4 separate regions of the Homo sapiens genome follow, and regions 1, 3 and 4 are each linked to region 2. Evidence: promoter capture Hi-C in human tissues and cell types (Jung and others, 2019). All regions are on one chromosome and are shown on one strand. Each heading gives the region's core, a stretch centred on a gene start or on the middle of the fragment in contact. The rest is flanking DNA. Distances are from core to core; before and after follow the strand shown.

Region 1 (6,807 bases), core at 3,378-5,877, 1.1 Mb before region 2:
CCCTTCTCCCTCTTGGAAGCACATTTTCCACAGGGAACATGTGCTTCCTCACATTCATTTACGGGGAGGCACTTTCCCACTATGTGGGACCCTGCCCTGGTCTGGCATCACCTGTGACTGTGAGCCCAAGCCTACCTCATCATGGAATCTGTTAACCATTCCTCCTCACTAACAAGCTAATGCCGTGGCCTCTAGTTTGGCTTTTATCAGCACCAAAGAGGCTCCGTGGAGTCTACTCCTTTTCTTCTGGATTGGGATGTTTGTAGTCATTCATGGTGGGAAAGTACTTCTGAGAGGATAGTGGTGAAGATCTTTCTGTGCCTTATTATGGAATGAACTGTACTCAGATTGGACTGTAGGCCTATAGCCTATGAAATGACTAAATATTAATGTGCCTGATTTAAGGTCTTACCAATGCAGTACTCATATGCTTGGACAGGGCAGTGGAAATGGAAATGTGTTTTGCTTTTGGTTGAAAAACAAAGAAAAGTAGACTGGCCCAGAGATTTTCCAGGAGGGGGAGCCCTTGTTCCTTGTTCCCATTCAAAGCTGTGAGGGTTTTCATCATCTGTGACTAAGTTACAACAGAACGAGTAGAACAAACACAATCATTGCTATATGTCATGCTAAGCAAATAGGAGAAAATTGTCATAGTTTCTGTTTGGCATTATTTATCCCACAGAATTAGCTCTTTACCTATATGGAACTCAGTTTTGTAGGAGAGTGTCTTTATAATTCCTGCCGTGGTTTTGACAGTTATAGACATTGCATATGTCCTTTTTGCAAGATGCTAGGCTAACCTCTATTTTAGCTTTAAGTTAGAAGGAAAATATAAAACAGAATTAGGAATGTGAGCTCCTTATTTAACTGTATTTTCTCCTTAGCTTTAATCTTCCCCATTCTTTTCTCCAAATCCTTTCTTTAGAAAAACATGTGATTGACAGTACCAACACCCTATTTTGCAGTGTGTTAACTTCTTGAGTAGTTAACATACTGCAATATCATCATTATTAGCTTTCAGAACGGTTTTCAGTACATTAATGTGCATCAGACCAACTAAGCTGGAAACTCTTCTCTTGACATCTCTTCTTATTTTCCCAGAACTTGTAGCACAAAACTGGACACCTTGATTCCTGACAAATGTTGTATTAGTCCGTTTTCATGCTGCTAATAAAGACATACCTGAGACTGGGTAACTTATAAAGAAAAGAGGTTTAATTAATTCACAGTTCAGCATGGCTGGGGAGGCCTAAGGAATCTTAGAGTCATGATGGAAGGGGAAGCAAACACGTCCTTCTTCACATGGAGGCAACAAGGAGAAGTGCTGAGCAAAAGAAGGGAAAGCCCCTTATAAAATGGTCAGATCTTGTGAAAACTCACTCACTATCATGAGCATAGCAGCATCAGGGTAACCACTCTAATGATTCAGTTATCTCCCATCGGGTCCCTCCTACGACATGTGAGGATTATGGGAACTACAATTCAAGATGAGATTTGGGTAGGGACACAGCCCAACCATATCAAATGTTAAAAATGGTCATTTAACAGATGACTGGACTCTAAAAAAACAGATAGGAGTGATGGCTAGGAGCCAGTGTAGGTTCACCTAAAACAAGTTACCCCAAACTAACCTCATTTAAAAAATATTATTCTGGGCATATTGATTCTGAATTTCAGTAATATCTGTCACCCCAAATTTCTCATGTTATCTTTGTGGATAGGATAGAATTAAGCCTCAAATAATATAGTTACATGGCTTTACAAGTGGTTAAATAAAACATATTTAATATGTTTTATATAAAACATATTAAACCTGAAAAAATTGTTAACATTAATTTGTAGAGAGGTCTCTAGTAGTTTGCCATAGCTTTATTGGTTTAATTAAAATTTCTTTTGGTGCATTTAGCCTGTTTTTTTTTTAATGTATATTTGTCTACAGCTTTGGAAGAACATATAAAAGGCATGTGTTTGAAATTTTCTGATGACACAAAGCTGGGAGGAATATTTAATGCTTTAGATAGTATACTCAAGATTAAATATTTTTTCATTAGGCTGGTGTAATAGGAAATATGAAAGATGTATACATAAATATTTTAAAAACCAACTATAAATGTATAGAAAGGGAAAGATGATTTAATAGTGATTTATGTAGAAATGATCTAGGAATTTTTGTTGATCAAAACTTAATATGAAGATATAGTGAGACACAATTGCCAGAATGCCAATGAAATCTTTGGACATGTCAGTACAATAGTTCAGAACACAGGACATCAAAGTCCTTACTATACATAGACTTGTTGAGCTAGATCTGCAGTTGTGTTTGGTTCTAGGCATCATGTTTTAAGAGAGATGCAGAGAAGCTGGGATGGACCCAAAAGAGCCTCACTGGGAAGAAATGTCTGTAAAATAAATCATAGAGAATGGTTGAAAGGTTTGGGAATGTCTGAGTCAGAATAAATATTTATGGGAGTCCTATGAGTGGTTCTCAAGTATTTGAAGGTTATCAACATAGAAAGGCCTTAGACTTGGTCTAGGTGACCCCAGGCATGGAATTTGCTATGTGGCAAGAAGACACTTCTCAAAAGAAGACATACATGTGACCAACAAATATATGAAAAAATGCTAAATACCACTAATCATTAAAGAAAGGCAAATCAAAACCACAATGAGATGCCATCTCACACCAGTCAGAATGGCCATTATTAAAAAGTAAAAAAAGAAAAAAAAATAACAGATGTTGAGGTTGCAGAGAAAAAGGAATGCTTATACACTGTTGGTAGGAGTGTAAATAAGTTCAGCCATTGTGGAAAACAGTGTGGCAATTCCTCAAAGAACCTAAAACAGAACTAGTATTTGACCCAGCAATCCAATTACTGGGTATACACCCAATGGAAAATAAATCGTTCTACCATAAAGACACATGCACTTGTATGTTCATTACGGCACTATTTACAATAGCAAAGACATGGAGTCAACCTAGATGCCCATCAATGGTGGACTGGATAAAGAAAAATGTGGTACATATACACCATGGAATACCACACAGGCATAAAAAAAGAATGAAACATGTCCTTTGCAGCAGCATGGGTGAAGCTGGAGGCCATTATCTGAAGTGAATTAACACAGGATCATAAAACCAAAGACTGCAAGTTCTCACTTATGAGTGGGGGCTAAACAATGAGTACTCATGGACATATACAGCAGCAATAGACATTGGGGATTACTAGAGTGAGGAGAGTGAAAGGGTGGGGTAAGGGTTGAAAAACTACCTATTGGATACTATGCTTGTTACTAGGGAGAGTGGATGTCCCAGCTCTTGTCTAACTTGGAAGAAAGATTTCAACCAAGAGACAGTACAAAGATAGCAAAAAATTTTATTGAAAAGAAATATATTGTAAAGAGCTTATTGTAGGAAAAATGGGTACACCCCAAAGGAGGAGTGGGATGATCCTGTGCGAAAACAGTTCCAAAGGTTCTGCACAGGGAGCTTTATCATGCTGGACTTTTTCTGCAAATTACTGCCCCTGTCTCAAGTCTCCACCTTTCTCCTTTGCCTAGTTTTTCCCGCTCCTGCCTTAACTCCTCACCTAGGCTTGTGGGACCCTCCCTTACTGTTGGTTAATGTGCATGTGTGGGCTGGTGATCAGTACAAATCCTGTCTGATGGTGGCCCTGCTCATTGCTGCCACCCCAGAAAGGTTGTATAGTGGTCAAATCTATACCTGTTGGGCCTACATATCTCTTTGGAATTTCCTTGTGTGTCCTAATCTGTACTTGTGGTGCCAGGTTTCTCTTGGTAATGTCCCCTTTGCCCATCTTTTTTCCTTTTTTTTTTTTGGCAGAGTCTTGCTCCATCACCCAGGCTGGAGTGCAGTGGTGCAATTCCGGCTCACTGCGACCTCCGCTTCCTGGGTTCAAGCGATTCTCCTGCCTCAGCCTCCTCAGTAGCTGGGATTACAGGCGTGCACCACCATGCCTGGCTAATTTTTGTATTTGTAGTAGAGAGGGGGTTTCATCTTGTTGGCCAGGCTGGTCTCGAACTCCTGACCTCAAGTGATCCACCTACCTCTGCCTCCCAAAATGCTGGGATTATAGGCGTGAGCCACTGTGCTTGGCCCCCTTTGCCCTTCTTATTAGCATGTAGCTAACGACATTCTGACATTTTAACTGCAGAGTGAATGATTATTGGGGTGTCTTAAGAGGCATTCCGCGGTGTTTCTTTCTGTGTGGCTACCTTCTCGCTCTCCTACCCACATATGACTAAGTGCCCCCCGACAAGCATTAGAAATGGCATTAATATGCAAATTTTGGGTGGTCCCTCAGGTGTGAGCCTTCCCAGAGGTTTCCTTTCCCAGGAGCTCCCCTCCTGTTAATGTCTAGCTCTCCACCCACTCTAACATGCTCTTTACCTGACGACAGGATCATTCATACACCAAACCTCAGTGACATGTAGTTCTCTCATGTGACAAGCCTGCACACATGCTCCTGAACCTAAAATAAAAGTAGAAAAAAATAGTTATTAAAAAAAAAGAAGTTATAGGGAGGCAGATTTGGGTTCCTCATAATAAGGACCATTCCAGCAATTCCCGTTCTGAAATGGGGACGGGCTGCCTTGCGAGGCAGTCAGTTTCCCATCCCAGGAGATCTTCTAAGACAGACCTAGGAGCCCCTTGTCGGAGGTATCTAAAAGGGTCATGCTTTGGGAAGGTGGACCAGATGATTTCTGAAGTTCCCTCCTGCCTTGCGGGCTCCAACAGGAACTCAATACTGCATACAGTAGGTACTCAAGCAATGACTGCCAAATAGTTGAGTGCTTAAGTCAGAAATCTCAGGGGTAGACTTTTGCATTTGATACATATTTAGTTACAGGTGAGTTTATGGCATGGACCAGTAATTTCATCTAGTATCAGGAGCATATCATCTTGGGAAAAATGAAGGCCTTGAGCCACACAGAGTTGAAATTTCCTAGATAACCGGCTTATCTTTCTTACTCTGGCTCAGGCTTGTAGGTTTTAGAGCTATTTCTGATCATGAGCAATGCCTTGCCCCAAACTAACATGATGCTATTTCTTTTCCAGGATAATCGTATCCACACATCGAAATATAATATTCTCACCTTCTTGCCAATTAATTTATTTGAACAGTTCCAAAGAGTGGCAAATGCCTATTTTCTTTGCCTTCTGATTTTACAGGTAATATTTAGGTTGTATTTCTCTATTATCTGTTTGTTTAAAGTATTCATAAAATTGTAAAAAGTAAGTCAATTTACTTAGCTAAATGTTCGTGATTAGGTACAATCATCCTTTATCAGATTTTTAATCTTGTTGTTGCTGTTTCTTTTCACAAACGTGGGAGAGGTAGGAATGGTTAAAAAGTAGTACATTCATCATTTTAAACACTGAGGTCACTTTAAAACACAGCCTTGCACTTTATTTGAACCAAACCAGAGCCTAATAATTACTGTTCACAGCCTCCCTCCTTTCTTTATCTCCCTTTCACATCTACAGTGTGGGGATTGCCAGAGTTGAGGCAGAATCTTAGGTGACTAAGACTGAGTAGGTTGCAGAGCTTAATTCTGCACATTTCATTTTCATTTAAGAACAGTGACATATTTTTAATATATATAAAGTGATGATGCTATATGTTATTTCACTGTAGGTGACTACTTTTACAGTTTTGAATGGTTAATTGGTATTTAGTAACCTTTGCTTTTTCTCCTAACTAAAATTTGCCTTTAAATGAAATTTCAGCTTTTATGGATATTTTGGGAAGGAAAAACATATGAATCAAGGAAGCTACATATATACTGTACACATACATACTATACACACACATAAATAGTTCATGTTAGCCAGTTATTTACCTAGTATTTATGTTAGCATACTTTAAGCAGATCAAACTGGTAGGTCAAGAATGGCTAAGAAGTAAGAAGATGGATTAGATTAATAGATTTGAGTACTGTTTTCTCTTTAATTGAATATCTATTTAAGAATATGTTTCAAGTGACAGAAATCTTAATTAGTTTGAGCAAAAGATAAATTATTCATGGGTATCTCATTTCAGGTATTACTGGATTCATGGGCACAATTTCATCAGGATGTGGCTTCTCTTTCTCTGTTTTTGTTTTGTTTTGTTTTTGTTTTTGTTTTCACACATTGGCCTTTCTTAGGTAGGCCCTCTACTTGGTGGCCCTGACAGCTTCCTGGTTTCAACTCAAGTCAGAGAGAGAGAGAGTGGGGCAGAGAGGGGGAGGGGGAGAGAGAGAAAGAGAGAAAGAGAGAGAGAGAAAACGAATGAAGGAATTACTTTTTCTGTTGCTCCAGCAAAAGTCTTGAGATTAGTTCTGATTGGAGCTGTATCTTCATTCCTAAACCTGTCACTGTGGCTCAAGAGTTTGATCCAGTAATTGGCTTAACCAAGATCATATGCCAAACCCTGGATCCATGGTGGAATCAGTTTCCTAAAGTTATGTGGACAGAAAGTGAGGGGATATGATGGTTCCCTAAGAAATAGGAGTATATTTGAGAAGAACTGGGTGCTGATCAGGAAAACAAAAACAAACAATGAATAAACATCTTACTATTTGTTGAAGAAAGCTTAGAGTCCAAATTTCTTCCCCCCACCTCTCCCCATGAAGTTGCTTTTGGTTTCTTCAAGTAACACTTCACACCATTCCAGAATTTTGAATTCATTTCTCTAATGGCTTTCTCATTTGTGGCCAAAGGCTCTTGTTCATAGAATTTTATATTTAGAAGGGAACTTTGGGATGGTTCAGTCTAACCTCTCCTTTCTTTATTGCTGAAGAAAT
Region 2 (6,235 bases), core at 2,414-4,913:
TTCAGCAATGTTTTCATTCCCAGCTGATGGGCTGTTAGACTCATTGTGGGTATTGCTCAGTGAAAATCCTTTGCTAGTAGGCCTGCTTTATGGTAGAAATTGTAGTGGAGGGATGAAGTAACAGTCCTTGTGCTATAACACTCAGATGCCACCTGCTCCACTTTGTTCCAAAGTAGCAATTGGCCTACAGCCCCCCAGAGTTATTATGTTTCTGCCTTGTTCTCTCTCCTCTTCCCCATATCCTCTAGCACAACCTTCCTCTACCCCGAATTCCATATTGGATTATCTTCAAAACTGGGCTGGCATTTTTGCCAGGTTCTCTTCTCTCCTCCTCCTGGACCTGGCTAATTGTAGCATGACCCAGCCTGACCCAGGTCTTCCTTGAAACTGCCTGTTCTACTCAAGAAGCTCAGCCAGCATAGGATGTCTCTTAAGAAGCTGACATGTTGTTTCCTAGCAGGTGCCTTTAGAGAGGGGATGTCTCAGAGTAAAGGAGGCATACTGCTGGGGTCTAAGCAGAACTCTGTTTTCCAAGGGCAATGATGAGGCATTCATGGTTCTTAGATGATTTAATGACAATAATGGTTTTTCTTATCTATTATTCATGTTGTTACTTGTGAGGTATTTAGGGTGAATTTTATAGGTATGCTTTCCAAGGAGGAGAAAGGAGCAAGAACTAACATTTATCGAGCATGCAGTAGGAGTTAGGTTCATATACACTGGATCATATCACAGTGGTTAAGGGCATAGTTTGGAGTGAGTCAGTGCTCGATTCTACACCACAACTACCACTTCCTGGTTATGTGACTTGGGCAAGTCAGTAAATGTCAGATAGCACCTGCTGCATAGGCTTGCTGGGGGGCTTAAATGTGAAACACTTAGTTCAGGACCTGATCTAGAGTTAGTGCTCAGCAGATGTTATTATTATTGTGCACATTTTACATATACAAAACCTAAGTCTCAGAGAGGTTAAATAACTTACTCAAAATCCCACAGCTGGTTCTGGAATTCCCAGATTAATGTTCATCCAATTACATTTTGCTGCTGAGTGCATACTGCTTGTAGGTAGTGGCCCAGTTACAAAGGTTTCCTGAGATATCTAGTCTAGTATTATCTTCTGATAAATGATCTTTGGGCTAAATACACTTTCCCTGGGGGTTTTGGAGGGGTAGATACAGGAAAACCATAGATAGGAAAATATTCTGCCAGCCCTGATCTCATTGATCTGTGAGGGCCAGCTCAGGGGTAGGCTTCCCAACAACCCTAGAACCTCCAAAAATCCCCAGCTCATCTTCCTGTCCAGTCATTTCTCAGAGCTTTAGGAAGCAGTAAGATGCCCTGTAGCCATCATAGGCCTGGAAACTAGACTTGAGCTCTCTGGTCCCCTGGGAGGCAGCAGAGTACAGTGGCTGCCAGCAGAGGCTTTGCAATCAGGCCCAGAGGGATCCCAAGATCATTGCTCAACAGCTGGAGCACCTTGAACAAGTCACTGCCCTTTCTCTCAGCCTCATTTTCATATCTGTAAGGCAGTGAGGAACATAATCCAAGCATCCACAATTTGTTATAATAATTGAACCAGAATGTAGGTAAACTGTCAGGTGTTCCACAAATAGTAGCTCTTATTAATATTATTTTAATCATGACTAATTGAAGAGGATGTTCTAATGCCCTGGAAAAAGCAAACCATCTGCTTTACCCACCCATCTACCTAGAATGAAAAGCAATTCAATCAACGAGCCTTCTCTTGGGCTGTTAGGACTGAGAGAGTGGTCCAGCTGGGCAGGCTCAGCCTAGAGGCTATTCCCCACTTCCAGTTGCAGATCTGGTCTCTTTCACCCTCGTAAAACGCTGTAGCAGAGCTACCCAGGACAGCCAAGGTCTCTAGGCTTTGGGAAGAGAAGGAGCCCACAATGGCCATGACTGCTTTCTTACCTTACTTAGTCCCACTTCGCAACCCCCAACCCTCCCAGGACTCGCACTTTCTGAGGCATGTAGGCTGGTCTGGGCTCCTGGAGTCTGGCCAGCATGGTGCCTACCTAGATGAGCTGGCTCCCCTGGACACCCCATCCTGCAGTCATGAGACCTCTGTAAGGATTCCTATCAGCCAGGCAGGCCCATGTCCTTTCCAGCCTTCTCCAGGCCCACCTGATTTAAAAAATTGTTTTCTTTGGACAATGTTGAGTTTCTTAGCTTCTCCCACTTTGTACTAATTTTTCTTTTTAGTTGCCTAGAATGATGTAAACTCTGCAGTGTGAGGGTTAAGAATATGAGCTTCAAGGGGAGGTAGCTCTGGTTCCAATGGCCATTTTTTCATACTGCCCACATGTACTTAGTGAGATGGGCACTGTATGGAGCATTGGGCCTCGTAAGCCCTCATAACAACCCCATTAGATGGCTGCTGCCAACATATGAGGACATTCAGGCACGGAGAGGTAAAGTAACTTTCTAAAGGGAGCATATAATGAGGTCATCATAGCATAACAGAAGCAACACAGGGACCCAGGGACCCAGGGGAAGGCAGGAAAAATGAGAGGAAGAAAGCAGATGAGGAATGAGGAGGAATGAGAGGTAAATATTCTTGCCCAGAGCCTGTCTCCTCAGCCCCAGGGATGTGGGGTCCAACTGATTTAGCTACTTCCCTCAGTTTTGCCAGGAGGAGATGTAGGGCAGGGAAAAGGAGGTCAACAAGGATTGAAGGGAAGATTTATGAAGATGCAGAAAGGCCTTTCCAGGGAAAGAAATGTCTGAACAGGCTTGGCAGACAGGATGTGATGGGTGCTTTATTTCCCTGGGGGACCAGGGAGCTTGGGAGGAGGATGCCGCTTTCACTGGTCACTCTCAACCATTTAATTCAGAACCTGTGTTTGGATCCCAAGGGAGCTCAGGCTCCCAAAGTCATGAATATACATAAGCCTAATCCAGCATTAGGGACAATAAGATAATGAAGGTGGCACCCTTAATTCCTTTGGTTGCCAGTTTGTCTTAATTTTTTAATTAATGAACAATTTCAGATGTCAAAGCCTTGAGACACGGAGTAATGCAATCTTTTCTGAGAGTTCTTTATCTCTTCCTATGTGTGATTTCCACCCCACCCCGACACCCCACACCCCCAGTGTTTCAGCAGTTTCCTCTTCTCCATTCCTGAAGAACCTGCATTTCCTTTTCCCAGCTCTGGTTTTGGCTTCCTGTGTGCTAAGCCTTTGCAGTTGTCATCATGTCTTCAGGATGCATTTGATAGGTACAGGAAGTCGCACCAGACGGAAGATGGAACCAACAATCAATAAAAAAAGAACTATGTTTCTAAGAAAAATGCATCATGGCTTCCCACAGGAGTTGTGAACCATATGTCCTAATATCCCTGTAACAATGGGTCTAATTTTTAGCTCTTCTGCTCTGCCCTCCCGGCCATCTCAACAAGAAAGAAAATAGATCTTTTAACCTGCTGCTCCCCGGCTAATGATCTGTAGTAAAGATTGCCTTTCCTTTTAACTCATTCATCAGATACCACAAAATAAAATACGTCCCTCCTCTCCCGCTAGCTTTATTTCTCTCGGCTACTAGTTTAGTATATTTATGGTGTATGAGTCATCAAGCTGCCTCCTGATTGGATAAAAACCAAGCACCTCTGAGACCGTCAGTCAATTACAGCTATTCTCAGCTTCATTCACAGATTTATTAGCTTGCACACACACAGAGAAATTCATTCGGCAAAGTTCATTCATAAAAATTTCAACACGCTGCGTATCATCCTGCACATCTCAGCTTTCGGCTGCAAATGGGCTTCTGAAAAAAGCTCCGAGAGGAATCCAGGAGGGAGGGAAGCTCTGAGCGAGGGTAGGCAGGCTGGGAGGGGATCTGAGGAACACGGACCCATCACAAGTCAGTGAAACAATGCGGAGCAGCGCCCGTCAGTAGTACTCCTGGCTGGTGGCCCAGAACGGGATGCAAGACAAGATCTTCCAAGAGAGGGCAGCCTTTGGAATCAACGAACCCAGGCAAAAGGGCCTTTGGTTCATAGATACATTTTTTTTTCCTTTTTAAATGAACAATCACTGGAACAAATAAAGGGTTAATAGGCCAGTCATTTGCCCCGCCCTGTGAGAGCCGAAGGGAGCAGGTTCGAAAGTTCCTGTGTGCAGAACAGAAGGCTGGGGTGAGGGTGGGAGTCGGGTGCTAAATATTTCTACTAGGCTCCTGCAAGGCTAGTGATGCAGCGGGCCCCCCGACCGGCGCTCGCCCGGGTTCTGCGCCTAAGAGTTGGCCGTGAGCGACCCGCGCCGCCGGGAGCCTGGGTCTAGGCTCTCCCGACAAGGATTCCAAGGCGAGAACACTGGTGCCTCTGCCTGGGCCAGGGAGAGACTGAAATCAGAGCAGGGGAGGCGTTTCCCCCATGGGCTGTCACCCTTAAGGGGCCGGGAGCCGAGGTGGGCGAGCTCGAGAGCAGAGTTGGAGAGGTGGCTGCTGTGAGTTGCATCGGGCGTTGAGGTATCTGATGTCTGCACCGTTTATCTACCAGACGACGAGGCGATTTATGCAACAGTATCCTGTTTCAGCACTGCCAAGGCTATGCGAGAACGCGGCCAGGACAGCCTGGCAGGACTCGTGCTGTATGTAGGACTCTTCGGGCACCCCGGGATGCTGCACAGGGCCAAGTACAGCCGCTTTCGGAACGAGTCGATCACGTCCTTGGACGAAGGTAGCTCCGGAGGCTCGGTCGGGAACAAGGGCTCGCCGCAGCCTCCCCACCCCGCCCTGGCACCTCACCTGCCGACTGAAGATGCCACCTTGCCGTCGCAGGAGAGCCCCACCCCACTGTGCACCTTGATCCCCCGCATGGCAAGCATGAAGCTGGCCAACCCGGCCACTTTGCTGAGTCTGAAAAACTTTTGCCTGGGTACCAAAGAGGTGCCTCGGCTGAAGCTCCAGGAAAGCCGGGACCCAGGTTCCAGCGGCCCCTCTTCCCCAGAAACCAGTTTAAGTAGGTCCGGGACTGCACCTCCACCGCAGCAGGACCTGGTGGGACACAGGGCAACCGCCCTAACCCCTGATTCGTGCCCGCTTCCTGGCCCTGGGGAGCCAACACTTAGGAGCAGGCAGGACAGGCACTTTCTACAGCACCTGTTGGGGATGGGCATGAACTACTGTGTGAGGGTAAGTCCATTTTCCTCTCTGCCCTCTAAGAACTTCCGTGGAAGGGGGCATCTTCTCTGCTTTCTGCAAGGGGTCTAATGTTACCTGCCTGGGTTCTGTGTTTGGACAGGACATGATTCAACTGGACCAAGGCGGAGGGGAGCTGGGTTTATATATGTCCCTACAACTATCTGACTTGTACTGGAGTCAGGCAGCCTTTGGTTCAAGGACATGAACCGGTGCTAACTTGTAGGACATGAACTTGTGGGTACTTGGCAGGTGTAGAGGCAAGTTCTGATAGAGGCAGCTGATGGCACCACTTTGTCCCCGCTGGACCTAGTATTCTGGCCAAAAAGAGTCAAGGACTTCAAATCTGATCAGTGATTGAGACCTGGTAGGTTATACTGGCCATTGTATTTTGGATGAATACAGTAAAGATTTCTGTGCTGTAGAAACACATGGTGTGTAAGGGGCTTGAATTATTCTTTAAAAATTTATTTCAGCATTTAACAAACACTTCTCAAAACACGTCCGAGTCTCTAACCTTGTGCCAGGAGCTAGTCTTAGCTCTCCGGTGCACATTTATTGCCTTTACTGCCTACGCTGCAGCAAGTAGGCCTTGTCCATGAGCTATGGGCAAAATCAAGGTCCTTACTGGCCTTGTATCTGTCCTTGCTCAGTCAAGATGTGGGCAAATGAAGATTTGGCCTGTGCCCTTTTGCAGCTCAGATTTCAATGAGATCAATGAATACATGCGAAATACTAAGATAATAATACTTAGCAATAGATAGCTAATATGAGAATGCTGAGGGAATTCAGAAAAAAGGAAAGATTATGTGATCTGGGATTCATTCACATGGGGAACCCTCAGGAGAAGATGAATCTTGGAAGAAATGTCAGATCTGGGTTGGCAGAAAGGAGGGGATTCCTGGTAGGCCAAGAATAGGAGCAAAGTCACTGTGGTGGCTGCAGGGGAGCATCACACAGGCTGGGCCTTATGGAGGAGGAAGGGGAATGCTGGAGAATAGTGGGTGACTGAGGGAGGGGGTGGCTTGTAGTACTCAAACAAGTATGAGTTGAATAAAGACAAATAGAGATCACGGGT
Region 3 (6,327 bases), core at 225-2,724, 1.3 Mb before region 2:
GACAGTCTATTCGTAATACTATTACTGTTTTTAGTATTTTCATAGAATGTGAATTGTTTACTTTCTGCAAGAACTTAAATATACATTGCATGTAGGAGGGCAGAAAATTTGTTTTTTAAAATTTTGAACACATTTACTATTGCAAAAAAATTTATGCTAAGTTTAGTTTAATTTGCACCAACAACAGATGACAATATCTTGCACTTTATTTACTTTTATGAAAAATTTTATTGCTGCAAACCCTCCAGTAAAAACAATTAGTTGCCAGTTTTAAATTTTAGACCAGCTTGGCTGGGTGGGGTGGCTCATGCCTGTAATCCCATCACTTTGGGAGGCCAAGGCGGGCAGATCATTTGAGGTCAGGAGTTTGAGACCAGCCTGGCTAACATGGTGAAACCCTGTCTCTACTGAAAATAGAAAAATTAGCTGGGTGTGGTGGTGCATGCCTGTAGTCCAAGCTACTTGGGAGGCTGAGGCAGGAGAATCACATGAACCCAGGAGGCGGAGGTTGCAGTGAGCCAACATCGTGCCACTGCACTCCAGCCTGGGTGACAGGCCGAGACTCTGTGTCAAGAAAAAAATAAATAAATAAAAATTTAGGCCAGCTTTTCTCTGCTACTTACCTCTTCTATCTTTTACCAGATGTATTTGGAGAATTTAAACTACTTTTATTCTAAGTAAAAACTTAATGAGAAAGGAAAATGGATTCTAAAATCCAAATATAAATTGCTTTTGTATGATCTGTAATTTTAAATTAACCATAGCACACTCTTTTGAAGGGATAATTGAGAACTGACTTATTAATAAAGACAGGAAGGGAAAATGTCATGTCATAGTGTATAAATGGAGATTTTGATGTTCAGTTCATCTATGTTTTGTTTAGATGTCCCTGGTAGATTTGGGAAAGAAGCTTTTAGAAGCGGCACGAGCAGGTCAAGATGATGAAGTTCGTATTTTGATGGCAAATGGAGCTCCCTTTACTACAGACTGGGTAAAGAATGATTTTAATATTGTGTGTTCTTTTTCCTTCTCATTTTTGAGTTTTTGCAGAGAAAAATGTAGTCAGTATTGTGTTTATAAGTGGTAAAAAGTTATTATTTTTGCAAATGTGTTTATTATTTTAGAATTATAACTGTCCTAAAAGAAGTGGTTTATATTATTTTCTTTGATATTGGACAACCTTATCCAAATATTTCATCCACAAAGAGTTTTTCTTTCAAACTGTGGAGTGCATTAATGTGGCATGAATATAAAAATGTATCTGCTTGGGATTTAATTTAAAGGCCTTATAAATAGCACAGGTAGAATTTATAATTCAGAAAGATACTGATAAAGATTGGAGTTAGTGTTAATAGTCACTCCTAAAAGAAAAACAAGTTTATGTTTCAATTATTACTTGTAAAACTGTTGCAGACATGACGAAAGAGGAAGAAAGGAATGGGAATGAGATCTTGACAACTATGGAAAGAAGGTAGTTGTGGGGAAGGCAAAAAAAAATAACTCTTTAATTCTGGGGGCAAATAAAAAAGTATTGTCTTGTGGATATGGAATGCTAGGAATCTGAATTAACCTGCCCATTGGTAACAACTAAAAATTCCAGATTTTTGATTTTGCCGTTTTTGCCTTTCTTTCTCTTTTTACATTTTTCATGAAAAAACAAAATTTTTTATTATAGAAAATTTCAAATATATATCAACGATATCCCTGTAATACCCTTTACCCAACTTCAAAAATTATCAAATCATGATGAATATTGTTTCCTCTATAACTCTGTCTACTGTATTATTTTTTGTTCTGTATTATTTTAAAGCAAATTCCAGGGACCATATCATTTTATCCATAAATGTTTCTTTAAAGAATAAATAAATCTTTAAAGAATAAAGACTTTTTGATGAAATATTTTAAAGAAAGTCTTCTTAAGTACACTGCTGAATTAGAAAGAAAGAGATTATCAACCTGAAAAACTAAGTGAAGGCAAGAACCCAGAGAAATTTTACCCTAAAGAACATTAGGTGAACTCACACTTGTCTGGTGGTTTTTCCACCTCACTGGCTTGGGGTACTAAAGCTAAAGACCTGAGAGTGTTCATGGAGAGAAGTCTGATAGGAGATCTTATCTCATAATTCTGGAATCCCAAAGAGCTGCACCTTCAGTGTAGGGATAAAGCAGGAATACCCTGTCCCTCCTCCTGTCTGCTCCTGCCCTTGCCCCTGTTGCCGTGATGCTGCAAAGATAATAAGCTGATGTGAACCAAGACATCAAATGGAGAGAGGAAAACAATCTGATGGTGAGAATTTGGAATCACAAGGCATCCTTTTTACACACTTGCAGCCTGAACTCATAAATACTTGTGTAGTCTAAAAAACTGTAAACTGAGAAATGAATTTGAAGTGATCTTTGGACTAGGGATTACCCCAGGCTCTTGACAGAAGCAAATGAATATCTGCTCTGGAGGAACCTGCCTTCATCCCAGGCTTCATATCCACAAATGAAATTCAAAGGAAAGTGAGCAGTCAGAAATAACTAAACACATGAACACATGCCAATTTGGACAGTAATCTGCTAAAACAACTGTCAACAGAAGCAGACCTATAAGGACTTGAGATAAAATTTTAGTAACAGATTAGAAACAGCTAAAGAGAAAATTAGTAAACTGAAAGGTATGAAAAAAAAAATGATCCAGACTATGTCACAGATAAAAATAGATAGAAAATGTAAAAGAGATGTTAGGAATCATGAAGGATCATGTGAGAAAGTCTAACATCTGATCATAGATCCACAAAAAGAGCAAAAATAGGGATGAAATAATTCAAAGAGGTAATTGCTGAGAATTTTCCAGAACTGATGAAAGATGGCAGCCCACAGATTTGAGTAGCCTAACAAATCTCCAGCAGGATCAATTTAAAAACTAATCTATATCTAGATATATCATAGTGATGCTGTAGTACCTCAAGACAAAAAGATCTTTTTTTTTTTTTTTGAGATGGAGTCTCACACTGTTGCCTGGGCTGGAGTGCAATGGTTCAGTCTCGGCTCACTGCAACCTCCGCCTGCCGGGTTCAAGTGATTCTCCTGCCTCAGCCTCCCAAGTAGCTGAGATTACAGGCACCCACCACCAAGCCCAGCTAATGTTTTGTATTTTTAGTAGAGATGGGGTTTCAATATGTTGGCCAGCTGGTCTTGAACTCCTGACCCCGTGATCAGCCCGCCTCGGCCTCCCAAAGACAGAAAGATCTTAAGAAGGATTAGTATCCATAATACATAAGGAATTCCCATGGGTTAGCAATAAAAAGACAAGGCAATAGAAGACTGACTGGATATGGTGCTTTACCAAGGAGAAAGTTTGATCAATAAACATGAAAAGATACTCAACTACATTAAAATTGGGGCAAATGCAAAGTAAAATCATGAAATACTATTATATATCCACCAGATTAGCAAAAACAGTTGAGCAGTACCAAGGCTTGGTGAGGAGATGGTGGGAACTCTCAAATATTTTTGGTGGAAGTATGGAATTGGTATAATCGTTATGGAAGACAGTTTGGCAGCACATAGTAAATTTGGAGATGTGCATAGTATATGATGTAGCAGTTGGGCTTCTAAGACTATTCCCGAGAGAAGACTTGTTCATGTGCCTGAAACATATACAAGACTACTGTATTTAGCAGCAACATTATTCATAATAACACAAAAACTGGAAACAATCTAAATGTTCATCAGTAGATTGGTTAAATTAATTGTGGTTTACTCATTCAATGGAATATTATAGAACACAGAAAATTAGTAAGCTATACTTACAGTTATTAACATGGTGAATCTCATGAATACAGTGTCAAGCAAAAGAAGGCAAGTCACAGAGAAATACATGCAGTATAATTCTGTTTAAATAAAACTCAAAACAGGCAAAACCAAAGTATATTTTTTAGGGATAAGTGATACAAAGAAAACTAAGTAATGCTTGTCACAAAATTCAAAATATTAGTTACCTCTGGGGCTGGGGGAGGGGCTTGTGATCAGGGAGTGGCATGTGGGAAGATTTTTTTTTTTTTTTTTTTGAGACAGAGTTTCGCTCTGTTGCCCAGGCTGGAGTGCAGTGGCATGATCTTGGCTCACTGAAGCCTCTGCCTCCCGGGTTCAAGTGATTCTCCTGCCTCAGGCACCGAAGTAGCTGGGATAACAGGCGCCCACCCTCACACCCAGCTAATTTTTTATTTTTAGTAGATGAGGTTTCACCATGTTGGCCAGGCTGGTCTCGAACTCCTGACCTCAGGCAATCCACCTGCCTTGGCCACCCAAAGTGTTGGGATTACAGGCGTGAGCCACTGCGCCTGGCCAGATTTTAAATTACTGGCAGTGTTTTATTTCTAGACTATGGTGTTGATTCACAGGTGTTTGCCTTAAACTACATATATTGGCTGAGCACAGTGGCTTACGCTTGTAATCCCAGCACTTTGGGAGACTGAGGTGGCAGATTATTTGAGGCCAGAAGTTCAAGACCAGCATGGGCAACATAGACCCCATCTCAAACAAAAAGAAAAAAATTAGTCAGGCATGGTGGCTCAGCCTGTAGTCCTAGCTACTCTGGAGGCTGAGATGGGAGGATTGCTTGAGCCTAGGAGTTAGAGGTTACAGTGAGCTACGATAGCTCCACTGCATTCTAGCCTGGGCGACAGAGCAAGAAGCTGACTCTAAAAAAATGAATAAAAAAAAACCCAAAAAGCTACAAAAACTACATGGCCAGGTGTGGTGGCTCATATCCATAATCCCAGCACTTCGGGAGGCTGAGGGAGGAGGATCGCTTGAGCTCAGAAGTTTGAAGGTACAGTGAGCTGTGATCACCCCATTGGACTCCAGCCTGAGTGACAGAGTGAGACCCTGTCTCAGAAAAAAACAAAAAACCCTGCATATATGTATATATATTTTGTGTCAATAACCAAGAAGGGAAAGTCTCAGAAGACAAAAATAAAAAAGTAGATCCTAATGTCAAACTGAGCAAAGCTCCTGGTTGCTAAATGGGCTGTTGAGATATTTTCATTAAATACTGAAATTTAAGAGTATAGAAAAGGCTAGTTAAAGAAAAATTGACAAAGCATGGAGAAAGAAAGGATTGTTTAAGGATCTTCTTTGATCTGCTGGGATGACCTTCTCTTAAAAATGTAAGGTTTAGCTGGGTTTGTTGGTGTGTGCCTGTAGTCCCAGCTACTCTGGAGGCTGAGGTGGACAGATTGCTTGAGCCCAGCAGTTCAAAGCTGTAGTGTGTGATAATTGTACCTATGAATATCCATTGCACCCCAGCCTGGGCAACACAGTGAGGCCCTGTCTCTAATTAAACAAACAACAATTAAACAAACAAACAAACAAAAAATATATCTATCTCTCTATCTATAGATAGATAGATAGAGAGATAGGACTAAGGACCTTTATACATATATCTCACTTAATCTCTTCATAACATAATAAACTGTTTATATGTGTAAATTTCCTTAGTCCAAATATCTTAGTTCTTTGGAATATCAAGTGATGTGGTAATCAGAGGGTTATAGGGATTTTCTGTGCCTTTAAATGCATGTGATAGAACTTAATCTTCCTTCCCTCACATTTTAGTACTCCCTCTGTGTATTGTGGATGTCAATTTAATGACTAGACCACATGGAACCAATTTCAGGAGAATTGGGCTCTGTTTTGGTTTTGTCCTGATTCAACTTTGGCAAATGCACCTAAGATTTTTCCTTTGAAAAAAATCCCTTTAAAAAGATCACTGAGATGTTTCAATACGTGAATTTTTTAAGACCTACAAAACAATTTTGATCCACTTAAAGTAAAAATGTACACTGTTACATTTATTTGAGATGAATTTTACAGACGAAGTTAACTTAGCAAGTTTTGTGTGATTGGTATGAGGAATACATTCTAATACACAGAAAAATTTCTCAAACTCTATCTCTGATTTCTTTTTTTTTTTTTTTTCTTTAGACCAAAATCTCGCTGTGTCACCCAGGCTGGAGTGCAGTGGCGCGATCTCGGCTCACTGCAACCTCTGCCTCCTGGGTTCAAGCGATTCTCCTGCCTTAGCCTCCTGAGTAGCTGGGATTACAGGCACATGCCACCACGCCTGGCTAATTTCTGTATTTTTAGTAGAGATGGGGTTTCACCATGTTGGCCAGGGTGGTCTTGAATTCCTGACCTCAAGTGATCCACCCGCCTTGGCTTCCCAAAGTGCTGGGATTACAGGCGTGAGCCACCACGTTCGGCCTCTATATCTTAATTTCTAATGAAATTAATTTTGTTCAGGCAGTTTATCTGATAAAAAATAATGAAGAAAGAAAG
Region 4 (7,131 bases), core at 1,955-4,454, 1.2 Mb before region 2:
ATTACATGATATTATATAAATGATAAAGATAATGCTTTTATGACTTTTATCTAACATTAATTGTTCTTCAAGTGTTTTGTTTTCCAGACTTAAGAAAACTTTCTCTCTTAAGCTGTCTATAGTTTACAACATTTTGGTAAAGTATGCTTTTGTGAATAAAGCTGGAAGCATTTACTCTTTATTCTTACTATTCCTCAAAAATTTGGAAACTGTTCATAAGTTTTCTTATGGCAATATAGTTATTTGCATAAGTCCAGTAAAAATCTTACCTCTCTCTTTTTTTTTTTTTTTTTTTTTTTGAGACAGGTTCTCACTCTGTCTCTTAGGCTGGAGACAATCTCAGCTCAGTGCTGCCTCCACATCCTGGGCTTAAGTGATCATCCCACCTCAGCCCTAGAGAAGCTGGGACTACAGGCATGTGCCACTACATCAAGCTACTTTTAAAATTTTTCGTAGAGATGGAGTTTCGCCATGTTGACCATGTCAGAGGTCTTTCTTTTTAAATAGCAGAATACAATCAGAAACATTAGTTATATTACCAAGGCTTTGACCAAAATATCATATTTGACAGTGTGCATAGAATGACTGGCTTCAAGTGTTCCCAGACTTAAATGAATAGACAAAAAGTTGTTACTCTCTGGCAGGCCCAGGAACCTTAAGACTATAGGTAAAATCTAAATCTGCCTTGGTTTGGCTTCCTAGCCTAAAGAAATTTTAAAATCTGAGCTTCCTATGTGATTAATATGTATAGAAAAAGTTATGTTTCTAAAGAAAAGCTATAATACACCTGTTATTACATTGTAACTCTGTGCATTGTTTTTGAGTTCCTGTGATCTACCTACAGACTAGACTAAATCCTGAATTCTAGAGCCTTCCAATCCAACTTTCTTTCATGGAATTGCTAAAAATTGAAAATGCTCCATTCCTGAAGCCCTATAAGCTGAAACTAGATAAATTTTAAGGAAGTTGTGCCTGATAATGAGTCACACAACAATTTACAAAACCACCTGATGCCACAGACAGATTTAATCTGCAAACCAGGATGAGATGTTTTCATGCTCTAGACAGCTTTTCCCAAGATGTTAGGACAGGAATCCATATCATAATGAGACTCTTACCCCTGTTAATGCCAACCATTTTCACTTTACAGGATAATGGTCATTTGATTTATTCAATTGGTTGTCTTTAGCCTTAGCCCAGGTTCATGTCTCAAAACCATTATGCAAATTAGAATTGTCATATTACTATTAATTTTGTGTTGTATTTTCTTATTTTAAACTTTGTATTTGTTATTTGTTAAATTCTTGCAGAGGTACAACTCTGAACAGAATAATGCTGGCCTAGAACTTGGGGATGATAGCAAACCCCTACGAAACAGACAAAATTAAACTTAATAATGGACTCCAGGTAGGCTAGCCTGAGAGCTTCGCTTCAAACTCCCTTTGTTGCTCAAATGTGGCCAGAAGAGTTTCAGTATGACTCGTAGTCACCAATCATTCCTTCCAAATGTGGGTGTAGATGAGCAACCTGGGACAAATCCATCCTGGTACTGAGGGACATCAAAATCCAACTATAGGTTGATTGATCAGTGATGCTTTTGGAGAAAGATCTTGATGAAAAGGAGGGAAGTGTGAAAGTTCTCAGAATCAAAATGGAGTCCATTGTGTTAAAATCCTCCCTGAGAAATGGATCTGGGGTAGGCCATGCAGAGAAAAGTTCTCATGAAATGCCTGATAACACATACTATCACAAAAGACTCTGCAAAACTCCCAACCTTGCACAAAGACCATCACAGCCTTTTGCAAAAAATACTTTTATGTGGACATTTGCCCAGCAACTCACTGTTCAAGCTCACCTGCTGTCACTCTTGTTACTGTTACTGATCCTTGTAGCCAAGGATAATTATCTCAAAAACCACTATGAAATTTTTTTTTTTTTTGGGACGGAGTCTTGCTCTGTCACCCAGACTGGAGTGCAGTGGCGTGATCTTGGCTCACTGCAACCTCCACCTCCCGGGTTCAAGCGATTCTCCTGCCTCAGCCTCCTGAGTAGCTGGGATTACAGGCACCCTCCACCACACCTGGCTAATTTTTGTGTTTTTAGTAGAGACAGCGTTTTGCCATGTTGGCCAGGCTGGTCTCAAACTCCTGACCTCAGGTGATCCGCCTACCTTGGCCTCTGAAAGTTCTGGGATTACAGGCATGAGCCACTGTGCCCGGCCAACTATGAAATTTTCTTAATTTTTCTCTTAAAAGCCTTTGTCTTCCTTTACTGCCCTGAATACACACATAGTTTACTATGGCATGTGCTTTCCCACTGCAATGCCTTATTCCCAAATACATATCATTTATTTTTAGAGAGTCTTTCTTTGCTATTTAGGTTGATAAATGCCTCTATTAGAATTTCATTCTAATGAAGTAGTTTTTCATTAGATTCACTTCTCTTTTGAGCATATTATCATCATTATCATTATTATTATTGTGGTTATTTCTCTAAAGAGCTCCTCTCTGCAGTTGTTTCCTACCACCTCAGTGGACTCTGTGATGATCAAAGAGATCTGCTTCAAGGCTTAGTGCACATACACATATTATCCCCTCCCATGCTTGCCTTTTGTTTCCTTATAAACTGTTTAACCAGGAAAACAGGTCTGACTGATTTGAAGAGGAAGAGAGGTCAGCAGTCTATCACCAGATCAGACTCTACCAGTGATACTAGGATCTCCTTTCTAACTTCTGGCCTATAGCTTACTCTCTCTTGTCTTCTGTGTTTTATGCTTATGACATGACTCAGATAATATACAGGGACATACTGGGCACTACGGCAGACCTAGCCAATCAATCATGGCATTATCTTAGGCTGAGCCTAATCATGTGTCAGAATTGTTCTTAACACAATGTTCTCAACTGCCACCACCACATTCACATTTAACCCCTGAGATTAGTTCTGCTTATCATCTCTGTAGTATTGATTCATAGATGAACAAGAGAATCACCTGGGAAGCTTTAAAAATAGCATGATGTATTGTTATTTTTAAAAGGGATACTTATCTTTTTGAGATACATACTAAGTACTTATGGATGAAATGATGTTGAACCATTTGAGAGATAGTTGTAGACAATATAACATTTTATTCCTAAATACTTTCAGTACGTATCACTTAAAACAAGAGAATTTTGTAATCTAACTACAACAGAATTATAACACTTGGGAAACTTGAAGTCGATACAATTTTATTATCTAATATTACATTTAATATTATTATCTAATATGAATTCTTATTCAGTTTTCGAATTACTTCAATAATATCTGTGTTAGCCTGTTTTGTGCTGCTATTACAGAGTACCTTAGACTGGGTAATTTATAAAGAACAGAAATTTATTTTTTCATAGTTTTGGAGGCTAGAAAGTCCAAGATCCTTTGCATTAGCAGGTTTGGTTATCTGGTGAAGGCTGTAGCCTCCAAGAAAAGGAATGCTGTGTCCTCACGTGGCAGAAGGTGGAATGGCAAGGAATGCATACTGCATGAAGCCTCTTTTGTAAGGGCCTTAATCCCATTCATGAGGGAGGAGCTCTCATGGCCTAATCCCCTTTTAAAGGCCCCACCTCTTAATACTGTCATATTGGCAACACCTACATTTTGGAGGGGACACATTCAACCCATTGCAATGTCTTATAGCTTTTTTTTTGTAAACCATCCAAAAGCCAATCTAGATTACAGATTGCATTTAATATTAAATATAATTATTTATGTCTTTTATGTTTCCTTTAATCAAGAGCAGTTCCCCAGCTTTTCCTTGGTCTTTAATTGACATTAACATTTTTGGAGTCCAGGCCAGTATTTTGTTGAATGTTCTTTAACTTGGGTTTATGTGATGTTTCCTCATGATTAGATTCAGGTTTTGCAGTTTGGCAGGAACACTAAAGAAGTGGTGTTCTGTCCTTCTCAGTGTGTCAGACCAGGAGGCATCTGCTGCCTGATTGTCCCATTATTGCTCGTATTAAGTTGGATCACTTAGTAGAAATGCTAACTGCTAGATGCATTGGAAAGATATAGTTCTTCTTTGTAATTAATATGTATTGCATGGAGTTATACTTTTAGATTGTATAAATATTCTTTTACGCCCCAATTTCCCACTGAATGATTTTGGCACTCTTTGATGATCCTTGCCTGAATCTATTATTTCTATGGTGGTTCTGAGAGGGTGATTTTCTGTTTCTATCATTCCTTCCACATGCATTCATTGGCATCTTTTCTTTTTCTTTTTTTCCTCCTTTAAAGGTTGGGTATAGACTCAGCAATTTTCAAAAAATTCAATGTTATATATTCTTTTGTGTCATTGATCTTGGTTGGCTCCTGTGTCTTTTGGCAGGTCCCGATCAGCTTTTGAGCATGTTCTGATGTTCTGAAACAAAAGATGTTCCAGGATCACCTTGTGCTTCCCTTGACCCAGCCCTGGAATCAACCATTTCTCCGTGGGATCCTGCTTTTGTCTTTTGACTATGGTGTTTAGACATGGAAGCCAGGGTGCAGGTATACTCCTTCTGCAGGAGGGTTATTGCTTCTAGGCTCTTTCAATGGACAAAATAGGAAGTATATACTTTTTTTTTTTTTTTTTTTTTGGAGACAGTGTCTCTTTCTCTCTGTCACCCAGGATGGAGTGCAGTGGTGTGATCTCTGTTCACTGCAACCTCCGCCTCCCCAGTTCAAGCGATTCTCATGCCTCAGCCTCCTGAGTAGCTGGGATTACAGGCATGCAGCACCACACCCGACTAATTCTTGTAATTGTAGTAGAGGCAGGGTTTTACCATGTTGCCCAGGCTGGTCTTGAACTCCTGACCTCAGGTGATCTGCCCACCTTGACCTCCCCAAGTGCTGGGATTACAGGCGTGAGCCACCGTGCCTGGCTAATACATAGTTTTAAAGACCTCGAATTTGTACTGATACCTCTAACTTCGTAACCCAACACCAAAGAGTTTGCGTCTTCTTCCTTTACTCCATATCTCTTTTAAAAAACAAAAAACAACCCTCCCATAATGGGAAAACTGGTTCCCAGTGAGACAGCCAAGTGGGAAGAGGATCCCTGGAAAAACTCCAACTGGCTTGTGCACTGGGAAGAGTGCACACTGGGGTGGAGACACAGAAGTTCACAACATTTGCAGAAGGGTTCCTCTTCCTGTGTGGAACCTGGGATTCAAGGCTCCTCCTCTTCCTGTGTGGAACTTGTGGGTGGGAAGTTCTCTAGCAGGGACTCTGGCCTTAGGAGGATCCCTGTTTCCCCTTTTTTCCCTTTTACCCAATACAACCCTGCTTTACTCACGCTTCAAACCATCTATGAGCCTAAATGTTGGTGACCATGGGACGGAAAAGGACCCTGTCTTTAGCTGAACTAAGGAAAAGTCCTGCAACACCAGCAAGATCAATATGTTTATCTATTTGAAATTCTAAAACACACGCAAAGTAGTTTCAGAATTACTACATCAATACCACTACCAAAGACAAACTTACCTTACCAGGTAAAGTTCAAGGCTTTCTTAATTATTATCCTTAGAATATTCCCTGAGGGTGGCCAGTTAGAATTTCACATTCACAAGTTACTTGGAATAATTATTTTTCTTGTTCTGAATAATTACATTTTTTATATGATACATGCTTAGGTTGATTTGTTTCTGTTTCTGTTCAACTTAACAGTCCTCCCAGCCTGGTGACTAAATTTTATATTTGAAAATGTAGGCCGGGCGTGGTGGCTCATGCCTGTAATCCCGGCACTTTGGGAGGCCAAGGCAGGTGAATCACGAGGTCAGAGTTCAAGACCAGCCTGGCCAAGATGGTGAAACCCCGTCTCTACTAAAAACACAAAAAATTAGCTGGGCACGGTGGCAGACGCCTGTAATCCCAGCTACTCGGGATGCTGAGGTAGGTGAACCACTTGAACTCAGAGGGCAGAGGTTGCAGTGACCCGAGATCGCGCTCCTGCACTCCAGCCTGGGCAACAGAGTGAGACTCCGTCTCAAAAAAAAAAAAAAAAGTAAACATTTATGTGGTTCAAGAGTAAAAACTATATAAAAATATAATCAGAAGAGTTCTATCTTTTTCCATCTTTCTCATTCATTTTCATCCTTTTGCTTTAGGTAATCAATCCCATTAGTTTCTGGTTAATCCTTTCTGCATTTCTTTTTTTGCAAAAATTAGGACATATTCATATATCTTCTGACAAAGTAGCTTTGGCCAAATAGAAATATTGTCTTGCTGGGCACAAAGCACCAATTTTCAAAAAAGTTCCCAATGACTGAGCAAGCATTTTCTCTTCTTGGTGTACCTGAGTGCACCTGTGATAGTAAGAAAGAAAGAAAGAAAGGAAGGAAAAAGAAAAAAAGACATGGTGAGAGTGGCGGTGAAGAGAGTAGGGGGCCTAATTAGCCTTAAGAATTTATTCACATTTAGTAAAATTTCCACTAGATGGCAGTAACACTCCAAGAATAAGTTTCCTTTGTGTTCTGGGATAGGGTGACGCACCTACATGGAATGATGAGCTGTGGAGTGTGTTTAGGACAGACTCCCACCCAATGCAGAAATATTTTAAATGGATTCATTTTTCAGGTAATACCAATTTAACTTTTAAAATTAACTCTAAATCCAGTTTATCCCTCAGTAATGTAATATACTGAAAAAAGAAAGAGACTGATCCTGAATCAATGTATGACTGATCTGTGATTTGATAGCCTCTCAAATCAGACAAGATACTATAAACAGCAAATGTTAAAAAACCCTTAAGATTCAGTAAAATGTATTTTTATGCCCAGTGTTAATTAAAATCTCTTTATTGAATGCACTTTACCTCTTTATTTTTTGTTCAATTTTGTTTTATCCTGATTTTTAAAACAAGTAAAAAGTAGTCAAAGCCAAAAAGTAAACTAAATATCAAGGTTCATTTTAACTCAGATTAGGATGTGGTACATATAGCTGGGATTGTAGAGGTAATACCATACCCCTGGTTAACTCAATAGATCTTGCAAAAAGTTCTATTTAATATCAGTCACTGCTTTTCATGGCTCAGCTAGGCTTTAAGAACGAAATATTTTCTACGATATTCAGTAGTGTAATATGATATGGAAGCAACTGCTTCCATAAGTG

What was found. The method cuts DNA at HindIII sites, captures the fragments that hold promoters and counts their contacts. A contact is called where the count stands out against the background at its distance.
Region 1: a contact is called between a fragment that was not itself captured here and the fragment with the promoter of SHC4 in region 2, in 1 of the 25 tissues and cell types used here (lymphoblastoid cells).
Region 3: a contact is called between a fragment that was not itself captured here and the fragment with the promoter of SHC4 in region 2, in 1 of the 25 tissues and cell types used here (lymphoblastoid cells).
Region 4: a fragment that was not itself captured here is called in contact with the fragment with the promoter of SHC4 in region 2 in 1 of the 25 tissues and cell types used here (lymphoblastoid cells).

What each region holds. Positions count from the first base shown.
Region 1 is chr15:50,045,735-50,052,541 of GRCh38, reverse strand. It overlaps ATP8B4 (ATPase phospholipid transporting 8B4 (putative)), which reads left to right. Exons shown (of 28, transcript NM_024837.4): 4 at 5,078-5,191. Among named protein-coding and RNA genes, the nearest start is that of ATP8B4, 70 kb to the left of the region's middle. The HindIII fragment of the contact is 5,193 bases long and covers 2,031-6,807 here.
Region 2 is chr15:48,961,347-48,967,581 of GRCh38, reverse strand. It overlaps SHC4 (SHC adaptor protein 4), which reads left to right and starts at 3,663. Exons shown (of 12, transcript NM_203349.4): 1 at 3,663-5,151. The coding sequence starts at 4,567. RefSeq lists enhancers at 4,185-4,686, 4,687-5,189. The HindIII fragment of the contact is 15,905 bases long and covers 1-6,235 here.
Region 3 is chr15:50,304,355-50,310,681 of GRCh38, reverse strand. It overlaps GABPB1 (GA binding protein transcription factor subunit beta 1), which reads left to right. Exons shown (of 9, transcript NM_016654.5): 2 at 884-991. The coding sequence starts at 884. Among named protein-coding and RNA genes, the nearest start is that of HDC, 42 kb to the right of the region's middle. The HindIII fragment of the contact is 7,646 bases long and covers 1-5,297 here.
Region 4 is chr15:50,144,909-50,152,039 of GRCh38, reverse strand. It overlaps a transcript of ATP8B4 not described here. Among named protein-coding and RNA genes, the nearest start is that of ATP8B4, 29 kb to the right of the region's middle. The HindIII fragment of the contact is 5,114 bases long and covers 648-5,761 here.